Regions from separate parts of the Homo sapiens genome. Here all the other regions are linked to region 4. Evidence: promoter capture Hi-C in 16 types of primary human blood cells and fetal thymus (Javierre and others, 2016). All regions are on one chromosome and are shown on one strand. The core of a region is centred on a gene start or on the middle of the fragment in contact, and the rest is flanking DNA. Distances in the headings are between cores, read along the strand shown. Region 1 has its middle 9.2 kb from the start of RASL11B. Region 2 overlaps FIP1L1 (factor interacting with PAPOLA and CPSF1). Region 3 has its middle 18 kb from the start of RASL11B. Region 4 holds the start of DCUN1D4 (defective in cullin neddylation 1 domain containing 4). Region 5 overlaps SCFD2 (sec1 family domain containing 2).

What was found. Contacts are between HindIII fragments. The CHiCAGO score rates a contact against its expected background, and 5 or more counts as called.
Region 1: a fragment that was not itself captured here is called in contact with the fragment with the promoter of DCUN1D4 in region 4 in 1 of 17 cell types (fetal thymus); the score reaches 5.1 in fetal thymus.
Region 2: a contact is called between a fragment that was not itself captured here and the fragment with the promoter of DCUN1D4 in region 4, in 3 of 17 cell types (naive CD4 T cells, total CD8 T cells and total B cells). The highest score is 6.3, in naive CD4 T cells.
Region 3: a fragment that was not itself captured here is called in contact with the fragment with the promoter of DCUN1D4 in region 4 in 1 of 17 cell types (monocytes); the score reaches 5.4 in monocytes.
Region 5: a fragment that was not itself captured here is called in contact with the fragment with the promoter of DCUN1D4 in region 4 in 1 of 17 cell types (fetal thymus); the score reaches 6.1 in fetal thymus.

The regions. Positions count from the first base shown.
Region 1 is chr4:52,870,168-52,872,867 of GRCh38, forward strand. No RefSeq gene overlaps it. Among named protein-coding and RNA genes, the nearest start is that of RASL11B, 9.2 kb to the left of the region's middle. The HindIII fragment of the contact is 3,091 bases long and covers 1-2,700 here.
Region 2 is chr4:53,378,664-53,381,363 of GRCh38, forward strand. FIP1L1 (factor interacting with PAPOLA and CPSF1) reads left to right here. Exons shown (of 18, transcript NM_030917.4): 2 at 410-454; 3 at 562-601. Among named protein-coding and RNA genes, the nearest start is that of FIP1L1, 2.4 kb to the left of the region's middle. The HindIII fragment of the contact is 1,961 bases long and covers 312-2,272 here.
Region 3 is chr4:52,842,981-52,845,680 of GRCh38, forward strand. No RefSeq gene overlaps it. Among named protein-coding and RNA genes, the nearest start is that of RASL11B, 18 kb to the right of the region's middle. The HindIII fragment of the contact is 1,949 bases long and covers 358-2,306 here.
Region 4 is chr4:51,841,738-51,844,437 of GRCh38, forward strand. It overlaps DCUN1D4 (defective in cullin neddylation 1 domain containing 4), which reads left to right and starts at 1,416. Exons shown (of 11, transcript NM_001040402.3): 1 at 1,416-1,530. The coding sequence starts at 1,506. RefSeq lists silencers at 1,144-1,293, 1,304-1,353, 1,444-1,793, 1,894-1,973, 2,524-2,643. The HindIII fragment of the contact is 3,870 bases long and covers 1-2,554 here.
Region 5 is chr4:53,013,370-53,016,069 of GRCh38, forward strand. The region is part of intron 5 of SCFD2 (sec1 family domain containing 2); the gene reads right to left. Among named protein-coding and RNA genes, the nearest start is that of SCFD2-AS1, 87 kb to the left of the region's middle. The HindIII fragment of the contact is 1,682 bases long and covers 445-2,126 here.

The DNA.
Region 1 (2,700 bases), core at 199-2,698, 1.0 Mb after region 4:
GGCTGGACAGCAGACATTTGTAATACTGGATTCTGTGTTGTTGAGATTCTGTTTCTGGTAACCAGGGTAAAATAAATAATAGTGGTCTTGGGGGTAGTTTGATGGAATTCTTTGTTATTGGGATCCCATTGTAATGGAGGGGTGGCATAAACAGAGCCATCTGCATAGGGCCCGGCCTGCTAGGGACAACTCTTGGCTGATGTAGCCTGGAGTGCTTCCAACCACTTGGCCGTGCCCATGCCCGCTATGTCTGCCCTGAGGTAGACTCCAGAAGAGGGTTTACAAAGGCAGGAGTCAACTGCTACAAAGTATTTACACTTCTATCAATTATGTTTATAAGGAGTGTGGCCAGTGAGGTCGCTGGCAGAAGGTTTGGATTTGTAAGTGCTTGTTTAGGTGATAAACACTCAGACCCAGGCCCCAGACAGGGGAAACCAGTCTTATCACTCAGCTCAGCCTTTTAAGTCACCATCAGGTGGTTGACAGCTGCTGGATCCCTTTCGAATGGATACATTTGGAGGGGTTGAAATGGGAAATCAGTAAGTCCATCTCAGATTCTGCCTGACTTCGTGGCTAGCATTAGTGATAGAGAAAGTTCTATCACAGACATATGGCCCTGCATGAGCAATCATCAGACATTTATTACCAATAAATTCTTATGTGCTCTGTATGAGCCCACCATGTGCCATGTTCCAAATGCATCACACATATTAACTCTTTTAATTCTCCCCCAACCTAATGTGGCAGGTCCTATTGTTACACAACTGCATGGTCAGCGAAGACCAGGAGAGGTGGACTACGAAGTGGAAGAGGTGGGATTGGAATCCAGCCATCGGATTGGGCTCTTGACCTCTGGGCTATGCTGTCTTGGACCTATGTTGGACCGAGTTGTTATTCCTCCTCCATTTTCTCATCTCCTTGTAGACCCCATGAATGCCTCCAAATTTCCTCTTCATTTAGTATTATTCTCCTGTTGACGTTTTATAGTTTTGAGAGGTAACTTCCTTGGCGTCCTCAGTGTGAAAACCCACATTCCTTGAGATTCACATGCTGGCCACTGTGTTAGGGATGGCTCCACAGCAACCCCCCCATGAGGCAGGTGCCATAGTTATCGTTTCTTACAGATGCAGACACTGAGGCTTGGAGAGATCCACAGTGCTTGGAGTGGCAGAACTGGGACTTAGGCCCAGAGAAGCCTTCAGAGCCCTTTTCTGCCTGCTGCTCCTTCCGGGGGTGGAGGGCATGACTTGCTTCTCCTCCAGCCTCTCCCATGCTGAGAAGTGTGCCCACGAGCCTGGCAGCAGCAGGGAGTTTCCGGGAGGCTCTGCCATGGCCACAGTCCTCCTTCCCCCAAGCCCCCCTCTTTTTCCTTATTTGTTGGAGGCCCTTTGCAGGATTTATACCAAATGTCTATTGTGTTCCTGCTTGTTAATCAAGGAGCAGTGAACGTCCTGTGCCTCCTGCTTCATCTTCACCCAAACTCTGGTTACGAAGAAATTCTTCCAGCTCACCTTTCCTCCAAAGCCTTCCACCACCTGACCACCGGCCTGGCTCAGCTCCTCAAGCCAGCCTCCAGAGAAGAAAAAGATGACCATAAGCCAAACTTCTGACACTTCTCCCACCATTCACAGACTGCCCCTGACCATACTAATTACAGTATGGGGAGCATTTTCAAGACAAAAGAACTGCTGAATAACATTTACAATCAATACCTTCCTCCTTTCATCATTTCAGATTAGAGGCTTCTGAATTTTTTTTTTTTTTTTTTGAAATGGAGTTTCACTCTTGTTGCCCAGGCCAGAGTGCAGTGGTGCGATCTCGGCCCACTGCAGCCTCTGCCTCCCAGGTTCAAGTGATTCTCTTGCTTCAGCCTCCCTACCTGGGATTACGGGCATGCACCACCACACTCGACTAAGTTTGTAATTTTTTTAGTAGAGACAGGGTTTTTCCACGTTGGTCAGGCTGGTCTAGAACTCCCGACTTCAGGTGATCCACCTGCCTCAGCCTTCCAAAGTTTAATATTTCTTAAAATAAAAAATTAATTTGTAAAAATACAGTTTTCTGCTATGGCCGATTAAAGTCACAAAAGTAATACACAAATACACATTTGCTGTAAAAAAAAATAAAATAATACAAAAGTATACTGAGGGTGAGACTCTCCCTTCTCTTAGCTCTCCCATTCGATATTCCTTCCCAGAAGTACCATTATATATGTATTTCCAGAAAGTTTCCTTTGCATATAGACATGCGGTTTACAACTTCACCTTCAGTAGATGCTCACGTCGGGCCAGACCATCAGAGAAGCGCCAGCTACTCATTCTGAGTGCCAGAGAGTCAGGGACGCATCTTGTTCTTTCATCACAGTGGCCCAGAACCTAGCACAGTGCCTGGAACATGGCAGGTGCTCAGTCATCAATCTTTAGGAATGAATGAAGGAGTACAGATTTGAGTCACGTAACAGGTTACTTTCCAATTTTTTATTTTAGAAAAGTCGTCTCCTCTTTAACATTTCTTACGGATGGCTACCATTAACTTCCTTATTCAAATTCAACACTTTAAGATTAGTAGAATGAAAAAGGCACCTGCGGTCTCCTCTATTTCATGAAAGAACTGATATTATGTGGAAAACATACCTGGGCAAGAAAAGAGTGTCTGTGTCCACAAAAATCCTGCTTTGATTACATCTTAAAATAATCTCCA
Region 2 (2,700 bases), core at 42-2,541, 1.5 Mb after region 4:
CTCTCTAGAAGGGTACTTGTTTGACATCTGGTTTTTAACTTTAAGTCACAATCCCTTCTTGCTTGTTAACACCAGATTTGAAAGTTAATGTTTGTTCCTTGCCTAAAACATATATTCTTGATTGTCTTTAGAATAGAATAGTAAAAGTGCACTTTGGGCACCATGCAGGTCCTTGATGATGTGACTTTGATAAACTTGTAAAAAAAAATCGTTTGGTGGCAAGATTTAGCATTAGTTACTACTCTTTGAAATGTGAATGTGTAGGATTTCTTTTACAAAGATCTGGAAATCTTCATTACCTCTTAAATTTAAGCTTATTTTTATAGCAGTAAAGTCTGATTTTTTTTTCCATAAAATAAGTATCTTGTTAAGTAATTATAAGGTGATCTAACTTTGGATGTGCTTATAGGCCCATGGGACGTGCATGTGCACAGTGATTTGGCAAAGGACCTAGGTTAGTGCTTGTGATGATCACTTCAGATTTTCATAATACTAGTTTCTTTAAGAGTGGTTTCTTTATTTTGTTTGCTTATTTATTTATTTGTTTATTTTACTTGGTAGATGAAAATGAAGTTGAAAGGCCAGAAGAAGAAAATGCCAGGTTAGTGAAATTTTCTGTTGATGCCTATTACACAGGTTGTGTGAAACAATGGTTCTGTCAGTTGTCAAAATTATTTTCTTACAATCATTGGCTTCATTACAACACTGACTTACAACATTTTGGAGGACATTGAATCCTTTAAGGATTATTCCAGTTTCAGGACCTAATCTTACGCCAATTCTATTTGTTGGTAGTTTAAAGGACAAAGTTTTTGAACTTAGGATTGGACTGATTTTACACTGTTAAGTAACTTGTTACTCTTAAGTGAATTCAGTAGTGAAGTATACAGTATAATCGTTAAGCTACTGATAAAAATATTTTAACTTAATTGAAAATGTTTTTAAGTAAATCAGGAACACTCCAAACTACTGCTTTTCCAGTTTATTAACATTTTTGATGATATAATGGCAGTTTGGTTGTAATTTCAATGCTATGTATTGTTTGCATTCAAAATGTAATTAGCTGATTTGTTATAAGGTTGATTTCTTTGTTAGATTGTAAGAAAGATGTAAGTGTTCATTTATAGAACATATACAGGGAGTCAGAATTTTACCCCAGATTTCAAAAAGCAAGCCATGTAAAGAAGTACATGGAGATGTCGGCTTTACCCTGACCACATGCATTAGTGTCTGTAATGGAGGGAGAGGTAGTTAGAAGATTTTAAGGAATATTTGGGTTTAAAAAGTGGAAGATATACAACTTCATACCGAGTAAGCTGCAATCGAAAAGATAAAACAGGTGTTAGTGAGGATATGGGGAAATAAAACCCTCATACACTTCTGGTGGGATTGTAAAATGGTGCAGCTGCTTTGAAGAACAGCCTGGCCATTTTCTCAAATGGTGAAACATGGAGTTACCATGTGAGTCCTCCACCTTAGAGGAATGAAAACATATTCAGACAAAAACTTGTACGTGAATATTCATAGCAGCATTATTCTTAATAGAAAGTGGAAAAAGAAAACCTCGCAGCTGCATCAACTGATGAATGGATAGATTAAATGTGTTATATCCATACAGCGGAATATTATTTGGCAAGGACAATAAAATGAAGTACTGGTAGATGTTACAACACGGATGAACCTTACAAATGTGGAAGCTAAAGATGTCAGTCCGTAGAGACAGATTAGTGGTTACTAAGAGTTGGGTGAGTGATTGCTAATGTATACAAAGTTCCTTTTGGGAGTGATGCATACATTCTGGAATTAGATAGTTGTGATGGTTGGACTATGTGACCATATTAAAACTCAGTTGTCCTGTTTGAATGGGTAGATTGTATAATATGTGAATTGCATCTCAAAGCTGTTACAACAAAAAATGGATAGAGGGAAAAAGTGAGAAATGGAAGTAGAAATAGCTTAGGAGGAGCTGAAACTACAGTTCAGCTTCCTTACCCAAAAAATCCCCTATAGTCTTTTCACTCATTGGTATATTATCTGAAATGTTATTTCATTTTAAAATTTATATATTCAACTCAGTTCCTAATTCTGATCTCAACCACAAAGTTGAGATTAGTTTTAGTTTATGTTATGAAAGTGATTGAATATTTCTTTGTACCCATTCCTTCAGTTGGTCAAGAAATTAATTACAGGTATAGTTTTACAATCAAATATACTTTTCTATATGATAATCTTTATCCCATTAATTTTTATTTTTATTGGTTACAATTTTAAAAGCTTACTTTCTAATCAAACATTCTTTAATTTTAATTCCGCAATACACAACTTGCTAAAATTTATTGGAGGGAACCTTCTACCTTCCCTGAGTGTCACTGTCAACATAGCTTTATATTCCTTTCTGCAACTTCATTTGGGGAGCCGTTGAGTTGATTTCATCCTATGGGGGAAAAAACAATTTCCTTTACAGTGTTATTTTTCTAGAAAAAGCTTAAAATTTTATCATGTTTCTAACATTTTAATGGTGATAGAAAATTAAAACTTCCAAAAGAGTAGGCCTATTGAAGAAAGGTACTCTGCCAGACCTACTGCTATCTGGCTTGGTACATCATTGCATTGCTCTACCAAAGTTCCTGCTATTAGAATTTGCCCGTTTCCTACTGACTGGCTCATTGCTGAAGCCTCTGTTTTTCTTAAACATTGCAT
Region 3 (2,700 bases), core at 82-2,581, 1.0 Mb after region 4:
CTTGCCTCTCAGCCCTTTGTGCTCTAACCTTTACAGCTTTCACTTCCGCCTCAAACTGGGGGCTTTCTCCAGGCTAAACAAAGGAGAGGGGTTCTCAGCCCCAGAGCAGGAGAGCCAGGCTTCCCTGCTCTTGCGACCACTAACTACTAAGTCTTCCTCTTGTTTTGAGACTAAGCTGCCATTCCCACCACACCCCCTCCTTCCAACCCTCCTCCCCCAAGGCCCTGTCTTGCTTCTCTGTCTGCTGCTGAGTTCCTCTTGAACATGGCTCCAGCTTGGAGTTTGCTAATAGGGATAGGAGGGAAGGAGAGAGGTTTGGAAACTCTGGGGGATCCTATTGTCTGCTACATGGAGAAAAGCTTCCAATGAATGGCTCAAACCGGTCAGTTTTGTGGGAGATGGGAGGATAACACTTTTGCGTTTTCAGGCCTTAGGTCTGTTATCTAAATTCAAGGAAGTGGGAGAGCATAATCTCTTTGACCTTCATTTTCTACTCCAGACACTGCATCTTTATCATAATCCAGATGTGACTAAAGCTGCATCTCCTCCTTAATCTCAGTTTCAAACATCCCTCATGCCCCACATCTTCTACTCCCCTAGCTGGCTTCCTCTAGTTGCTCAACAGAAACCATTCTTTGGCCCTAGTGGGTAGAAGGTCCCATTAAGTTTACTGCCCTCATCTCCCTCCTTTCCTCATTTCTCCAGCTGAGTGTCCACTATCCATGTCTAGAGTCACTTCTTTGCAAAGACCCTCAGCCTCTTTACCTCTCTCTCTTCGTTTATTATCCTGGCAGAACACAATCTAGTCAAATCCTATTCTGTGCCTGCATGCAGGCCAAATGACAAGACCTGAGAAAAATACTCAGCCATGCTGGCTAGTCTCATTTTATGTTCCTGACCACCAATCTCAAGTCGGTCTTGAGTTTGCCCAATAATCCTACCATGTATCCCTCGTTTATTTACGTCCTTCTACCCCACCCTGTGACTGTTTCACACTTTTTCCTCCTTCCTCAACTCCACAACACCTCCTTCCCCATCACCATCTCAGCTGCTGCCCTTGCTTTCTGCTTCACTGAGAGGATGAAACAGTCAGGGGAGAACTTCCGCACTCTCTCCCCATTCGCATCCACCCTCCTTCCGGCTTCAGCATCCACATTCTGACTTCCTCCTGAAAGGGGCAGTGCCAGGGGCAGTGCCAGCTGCATCAGAGCTAAATGTTTTCCTGAAACTGTCAACAAACTTCCACTTCCTCTATTTCATTGGCCAGGACTGTGTTATAATTGTCCTCACTATGATAGAGATTGGGAAATGAGAATTTACCTTTCTTTGCTTCTGTAACAGAATCTGTAAAGGCCCAGGAGTTGGGATTGGCTGTTGGATTAGACAGGTAATCCTGTCTGCCACAAATAGTCTTATTCCCTAAGACTCATTCATGGCAGCAAGGTGGTTTCCTGTATTTAGTACATTCTTTCTCCTGAAGGTTCCCTGCCTCATCAAAGTGTGGGGCCCTCACAGGCACTGTTGTCCTAAGTGAGGGAATGTTTTTCAGCTAAGCTAAGAAGGAGATAGCTATTCCAAGCCTTTTGACTTCCTAACTCTAAGTCTTAACCTTAATCAACACTTTATTAAATTGATCAGACTCAATTCACAACCAAAACATGAGTGTGTGGTTTATGTTTATATTCCTTTCTTCAGGATGTGTAGATAGTTTCTTTTCACTCCCTCAACTACTCATTTATGATGGGAATTGAGATTGGTTTCTAAAAAAACAGAGGCAATGAAACTATACACTAAGCAATGATAAAAGAACAAAGGCTTAGCTAAAGGCCTAGCAATGAAGGTGTGAACGAGTCATACCAGAATATTCAAGATGAGGAATATGGATCCAGTTAAGCATCACTCTTAGGTCTGAGATTCCTGGGAATTGTAATGAATAGTGCATGGTTGTCTTGTAGAATGAAAGGATGGTTTTATGAAGCATCGGCTTGGTTCATAAAATAAATAAGTAAGTTTTGGTCAGGTGCAGTGGCTCAGGCCTGTAATACCAGCATTTTGGGAGGCCAAGGCAGGAGGATTGCTTGAGCCCAGGATTTTGAGACCAGCCTGGGCAACATAGTGAGACCTTGTGTCTACTAAAATTAAAAAAAAATTACTGGGTGTGGTGGCATGTGCCTGTAGTCTCAGCTACTTGGGAGGCTGAAGTGGGAGGATTGCTTGAGCCTGGGAGGTTGAGTGAGCCGTGATTGCACCACTGCACTCCAGCCTGGGTGACAAAGCAATACTGTCTTTCAAAAATTAAAAAGTTAAGCTTTGGCACCTGTGTCTTGGTCAGCTCCTTCATGTCATAAATGCCCGCTGGGAAGGGTCATGGCGATGCATGTATCTGCTGCTGTTGTGTAGAAATCAGTGAGTTGCAGAAGCTCCTCATTGGGGATGAGCTGGGAGATGACCAAAGGAAGCCCTATGAGCTATTTTGAACAATAGTGCGTGCTTACCAGGTATGAGGTGCTGGGAGAGGCAAACACCAAACACACCAGGGACACTGCATTTGTCACATATACCACTGTGGAGCTATTTCTTTTTATCTAGCTAGAAGATGATTTTCAAAAGCTCCTTCATAAGAATTCCTCTTACATCTCATTGGCCACTTCTGTGGTGAGGCATGCTGGAAAAGGAAATATCTAACAATGGGAAATGGGA
Region 4 (2,700 bases), core at 166-2,665:
CCTTCCAAATAGCATAACATTTGTGTCCTGATTTAAAATCTAAATTTCAGAGCCTGGAAACCCAAAAGCCTGGGCTGTAGAAATCTAAAACCAAAAAGACCGTGCGTTCTGTTACCTGTGATTTGTGGTGTCACCTACTCTTTGAGGCTCCCAGATGGCCCAGGGCCTTAGGATATGGGGATGCCTTGTAGGTGTGTTGTTGTTGGAGTTGGTGGCTGGGATGAGGGTGGAGGCAGGGTAGGGTGGGGGTGGGTTGGGGTGGGGGGAATCCTCCGTTAATATCTCGAAATATTGTTCTGTTACCATAATGCGGTGTGATAAGTTAGCTTCAAGTATTGAAAAATCAGGGCAGGACTCATGGAAATGGTGCGAATTCTTGACTTAGGGTCAGAAGAATTCACCAAAATTAACGTCTCCCTCTGCCAAATAACAGCCAGTTTCAATTTCTGGACGGCCTCTCCGCGGGAGTGACAGGTTTTCTTAGATGCCGCCGGGGGTCTTTCACGGGCTGGTGGTCTGCCCCCTGGACTCGTCCATGTGTTAGGCTCAGTCCGCAGCTCAGAGCGCGGCCCTGTATTTCTGTCTGATGTCTGGGGCATACAGATGTGTGTGACGGACAATGCTCGTGGCATTCGAAGCCTCTTTAACAGACATTAGTGACTAGAGGAAAGAAGTGTGCGAACTCTGCGAAACAAGTATGCGGACTCTGGAAAAGAAGTACATTTCGAAAGTGGGGAGAGGATGGATCTTCGTAGGAGAAATGGAAATTTGCTCCCCACCAGAAGGTTTGCTGGAAATTAAGACGCGGCAATTCTTAATCCAGTTTCCTGCGGTAGGAAGCAGCTGACAAGAGAAGTCCCAGTCCGAGTTCGGCGCGAACTGGACAAGTGTCGTGGGACAAGTGGCGGGAGACCCGGCCGCGTCGCGCCGGGCGCTAGGGACGGACGCATTTCCCTACTTCCAGCAGCTGGTACGAGCCGCCCCCAACTGCGCTGCGCTGCTCTATTCTTTGGGAAACACTTCGCGTGCTTTGTTTCAGACGCCGACCCATCTTTCTTGGTGGGTCTCCAGCTCCACCAATCCCGCCCGCCACTGGGCGGGGTTTCAGGGTCAAGGTGGACCAATTTCCCAGCTTCGCCCCTACACGCGCTCTCGGACCCCTGGGGGTGACTGACAGCAGCCGGGCCCAACCCGCTGCTCCGGAGCATGGCCTCCGCCAGGGGCGTTACGGAGACAAGGCCCCAGGACCAATCGTATTGGCCAGTGGGGGGCGGGGCCTCGTTGCCAGCTCCAGACCGGCGCTATGGGCACTCCTTTTGTCAAATGAGAGACGCAGCAGGGCGGCCCCTGAGCCGCGGTTTAGCCAATGGAGAAGGCGAGATGGGCGGGCTGGGAGTGCCCGGCGGCGGGTCCTCAGCTTCGAGCCGAGGTGCAGTGAGCTGGTGGGGGGACCGCGAGGCGAGCGCGGGAGCCTGGGCGGCGAGCCGGGTGTGAGCTGCCTGAAAATGCACTCGGATGCCGCCGCTGTCAGTGAGTAGCAGAGAGCCAGCCAGCGGGCCGGGGCCGGGCGGCTGCCAAACTCGCCACTCGGCTCCCGCAGTCCCCGCCCCACGCCTCGGGTCCCGAAACGCGCCGGGAGCCCCTGCCTGGGAACCACCCCTTCCCCTCCCGGGGCCGGGGCGGGCGGTGACGCTGCGGGCGGCGTGGGGCGGGGGCGGGCGTGGGGGGAAGGGACCGGCCTGCGGGGAGGGCGGAGGTGAGGGGGGTGGGGACTGGCTCTCTTTCAGTGTTGGGGGAAGGGAGGGCTGGACGTGCGATGAAGGGCCGAGATCGGAGTGTCCGGGGTGCATGGAGGTGGAGGCAGCGTTGGGCTGTAGCGGGCAGGGCCGGGGATGTGGGGGGGTGGCACCGGCGGGGAGAGGGAGGGAGCGAGCGAGCGAGCGGGGCACAAGGGTGAGGATTTCCAAAGGGCTGAGTGGTGCGGGCGGCTCCGTGAGAAAGGCGGGTGAGTGCGAGGGGGGCGCGGGGGCGGGGACAATGGGAAGAAGGGCTGGTTGGCGGGGGGGTGGGGGGGGGGCGGCGAACAATGGGGTGGGGGAATGGGGGCAGCGGCCGAGCGGGGCAGGAGGGCGGGCGACTGGACGAGGGCTGATGTAACGGGAAAGCGAGGTGGTGGGAGGGACTGGGGTGTAATGGTAGTTGGGGAGTCCTGCGGGGCGGGAGGGGCGTTGGAAGGGCGGTGGGTAACGGAGAGTGGTGGGAGTGGAAGATGTTGGGGTAAAGAGATGGGGCAGGTGTGGAAGGGTAGGGCGATTGGGAGGAAGAGGAGAAAAAGGTGGGTAGGATTTGGGGTGGCAGAGTGGGGGCAGGGGTGGAGAATATGAAATGGGGGTGAGGAGCTAGTCGGGGAGGAAGGGGAGGTGGGGCGGAGTTGGGCAGGAGGACTGTCACGTCCAGATTCGGTCCGGAGCCGGGCTAAGGGGGTGTCAGACTGTGCTTAGGGGAGGTACTTCCTCTCCCTGTCGAGGCAGGGTCCCTTGAAGGGGGGAGTCCAAGCTTCGGGGTGCGGAGAGAGGAGGGGGCGGGGCTGAGGTGGAGGAGACGGGGTAAGTGCCCTAAGGTTGGAACTGGCCGTGGTTCCCCCCGGACGGCGGGAAGCGAGGTCAGCGCTGGCGCGGGCTCCGGCAGCGGGACTAGGAG
Region 5 (2,700 bases), core at 36-2,535, 1.2 Mb after region 4:
TAAATAATTCCTTTCACTATAAATGTCACCTTGTACCCTTGCAGACAATTCTCCCTTTCCTTCTTGAAAATTCCTTCAACTGTGAGAATATTTCCTTTTTTATTACTTGGGATTTTGCCATGTGGCTTTTTTTCCTCATTCATTCAATTAGTCAACGAAAATCATTTAGCTGTTATGTTCTAGAGGTTGGTGGGGAGATAGTCTCTACAATTTCTGTCAAAACTACTCATGAGTACTCTTCAAAATCTTAATATTATGTGAAATGTTGGCAGTAATAAGGTAGTTTTATAACATTTATTATATGGCTTCTGAGAATAACTTTTGCTGGAACGTCCTCTGAGATCATTAGGCCCATCTCCTCATTTATAGATGAGAAATCAGGCTCAAGGGCAGATCCCAGACTGTATATCTCCTTATTAAAAAATAGTTTTTTAAATTCCAAGAAGCTTCACATGTTTACCACTGAAGGAAAGGTATTATTGCTTGGATTCCGTGCAGGGGAGGGATTTTATAGTCCTCCCATCTTATGAAAAGGCTTCAGTATAAAATAAAAAGGGTCAACTAAAAAATATCTGGTATTTTGAAGTCCCATACAGAGATGCTATATGAGAGAGCAACTTGGAATTAAATTAACTAATTTGAGTTAACTCATCTTTATTAAGCCTGAGGTGCTGAGCATGTGTTGGGTCCCGGAGAAAAACAGACATACACCCTTTGCCATGTGCAGGGGATGCAGGGAGGTAAATGGGTGGACCTGTTTACATTATGGTATGGTAGGCGCTATGATGTGGAAGTGCAGAGTGCTATGAGACAGAGGAGGCTTCCTCCAGGGTGAAAGGAGTTGGTATGGAGATGGAGTGGCAGTGATTGTTCCAGGCAAAAGAAACAACTTGTATAAAAGCCTGGAAAAGAAAGTTTCAGAGTTTTTGTGAAAACAGTGTTAGTTACGCACTGAAGGGGAGGTTAGAAAGGGATTATAGTCAGAGTCTCTGATTTTCACTGGCCACACCTAAAATCCATGTGTTCCTTACTTGCCTTGTCCAAGTTGACATTTTTAAGTGTGGTATGTAACATTTATTTGTACAGTTATTCTTCCCTGTCATCCAAGACACTATTCTTAGTTTTCCTTTGCAATACACAAAGGTGATTCACTCACCTTGAGAAGGCCCTGAATTCAGCTTATTCAGCATTTATCAAGAACCTCATAGGCACAACCCTCTCCAAGTGCTGCCTCAGCCCTCTGTGTTTATAGTCCTTGTTATAGCACAGATCACATGATATTAGGGCTCCTTGGGCTCCCCCGTGAGCTCCAGGAAGGACTGTCTTAGCCACCTCCAGAACTCCAGCACAATGCCAAGCATATAACAGGAGATAAATGCTTCTTGAATAAATACACGAGCTTGGTGGGATATACCTCAATTCTTAAAACATACTTAAATGCACCTTTTGAAAAAAACAGTGTCCTACATAGCTTGCTTTGGTACAGACGGTAAGGGGACAACCAAAAAATGGTTAGAGAATCTCTATTTTGTGAAAAACGCATTAACTCAGCATTCCCTGTTATAAGGGTACATAGAAATATTTTTGAATTTATAATATCCACTAGAACGTTTTACTGGTGTAGTACTTAGTAGCAGTTGTTTTGAATAAAAACTAGACATTACAAGGTAATGATTTAGCAAAACAAACCAAAAGTCAGTGAGTCAGGAGGAGAAAAGGCACTGTGTTAAAATGACCAGCTGTATTACAGGGTCTGCTATTTGCTACATCAGTTTCTCATTAAGCAAAGCTCACTATATTTAAGGTAATTTTAACAGAGTAAATACAAAAAAACACAGTAATAAAGACTAACCATATACTTGGATGGTCAGGACACAGGCCAGGATTATGGATTTTATTCTTCTGATCCACCACAGTTGGTCCTAAAACACCTGTCATTCATCTAGTGTTACTGGGGACCTGCTATTTGCCAGGCACTGTGCTGTGCATTGAGAATACAAAGGTAAGACAGCAGCTCTGCCCTGAAGAATTTTTAGTAAGGAGTACAGGAAAATATGCAAAAAAACAAAAACAAAACCCAAAAAACAAAACGAACCTTTGGAAGAAGCAGCAGGAGAATCAGGGCAAGCTTCCCAGGAGAAGCAAAATCTCTCAAACGCACGTTGTCAGTCATCAGGCGGTTCAGATAAGACTTTGAAAACTTATCAGCACACGTCTTCCATCACTATTAGAAAAATAACTTGAGTGTACCCAACCCCAGTTTATCTTCCAAGTTGGTAACACATATCTATGTGTTCCTGGAAGCTTTGACCATATGGCATGGTCAAATAATATATTTATTAAAATATATTCTACCTTTAAAACTGATTAAGTTTGGGGAGAAGAGAAATAGCAAATTGATAAACGGTCTTCTGTAGTAACATGTTTGAGCCACAACGAGGCGCTCTGGATTCAAGAATGAGTGGGCTTCTCTTATTGTACAGTCTCTTCTCTATGAGGGGCTTTCAAAGAACAAAATGCATTTATCTAACATCAGGAAGGCCAGCAGCTCTTGTAGGAAGGCAGATGTTTGTCCTGTACAAAGTACAGATGTTTTTGACTGAAGTTCCAAAATAAATCTTATTTGTGGAAGAAGAATTAAACGAAGGCAGAAACTGCTTCTTAACAGAGGGGCTTCTAACATCTAAAATAACCATTTTC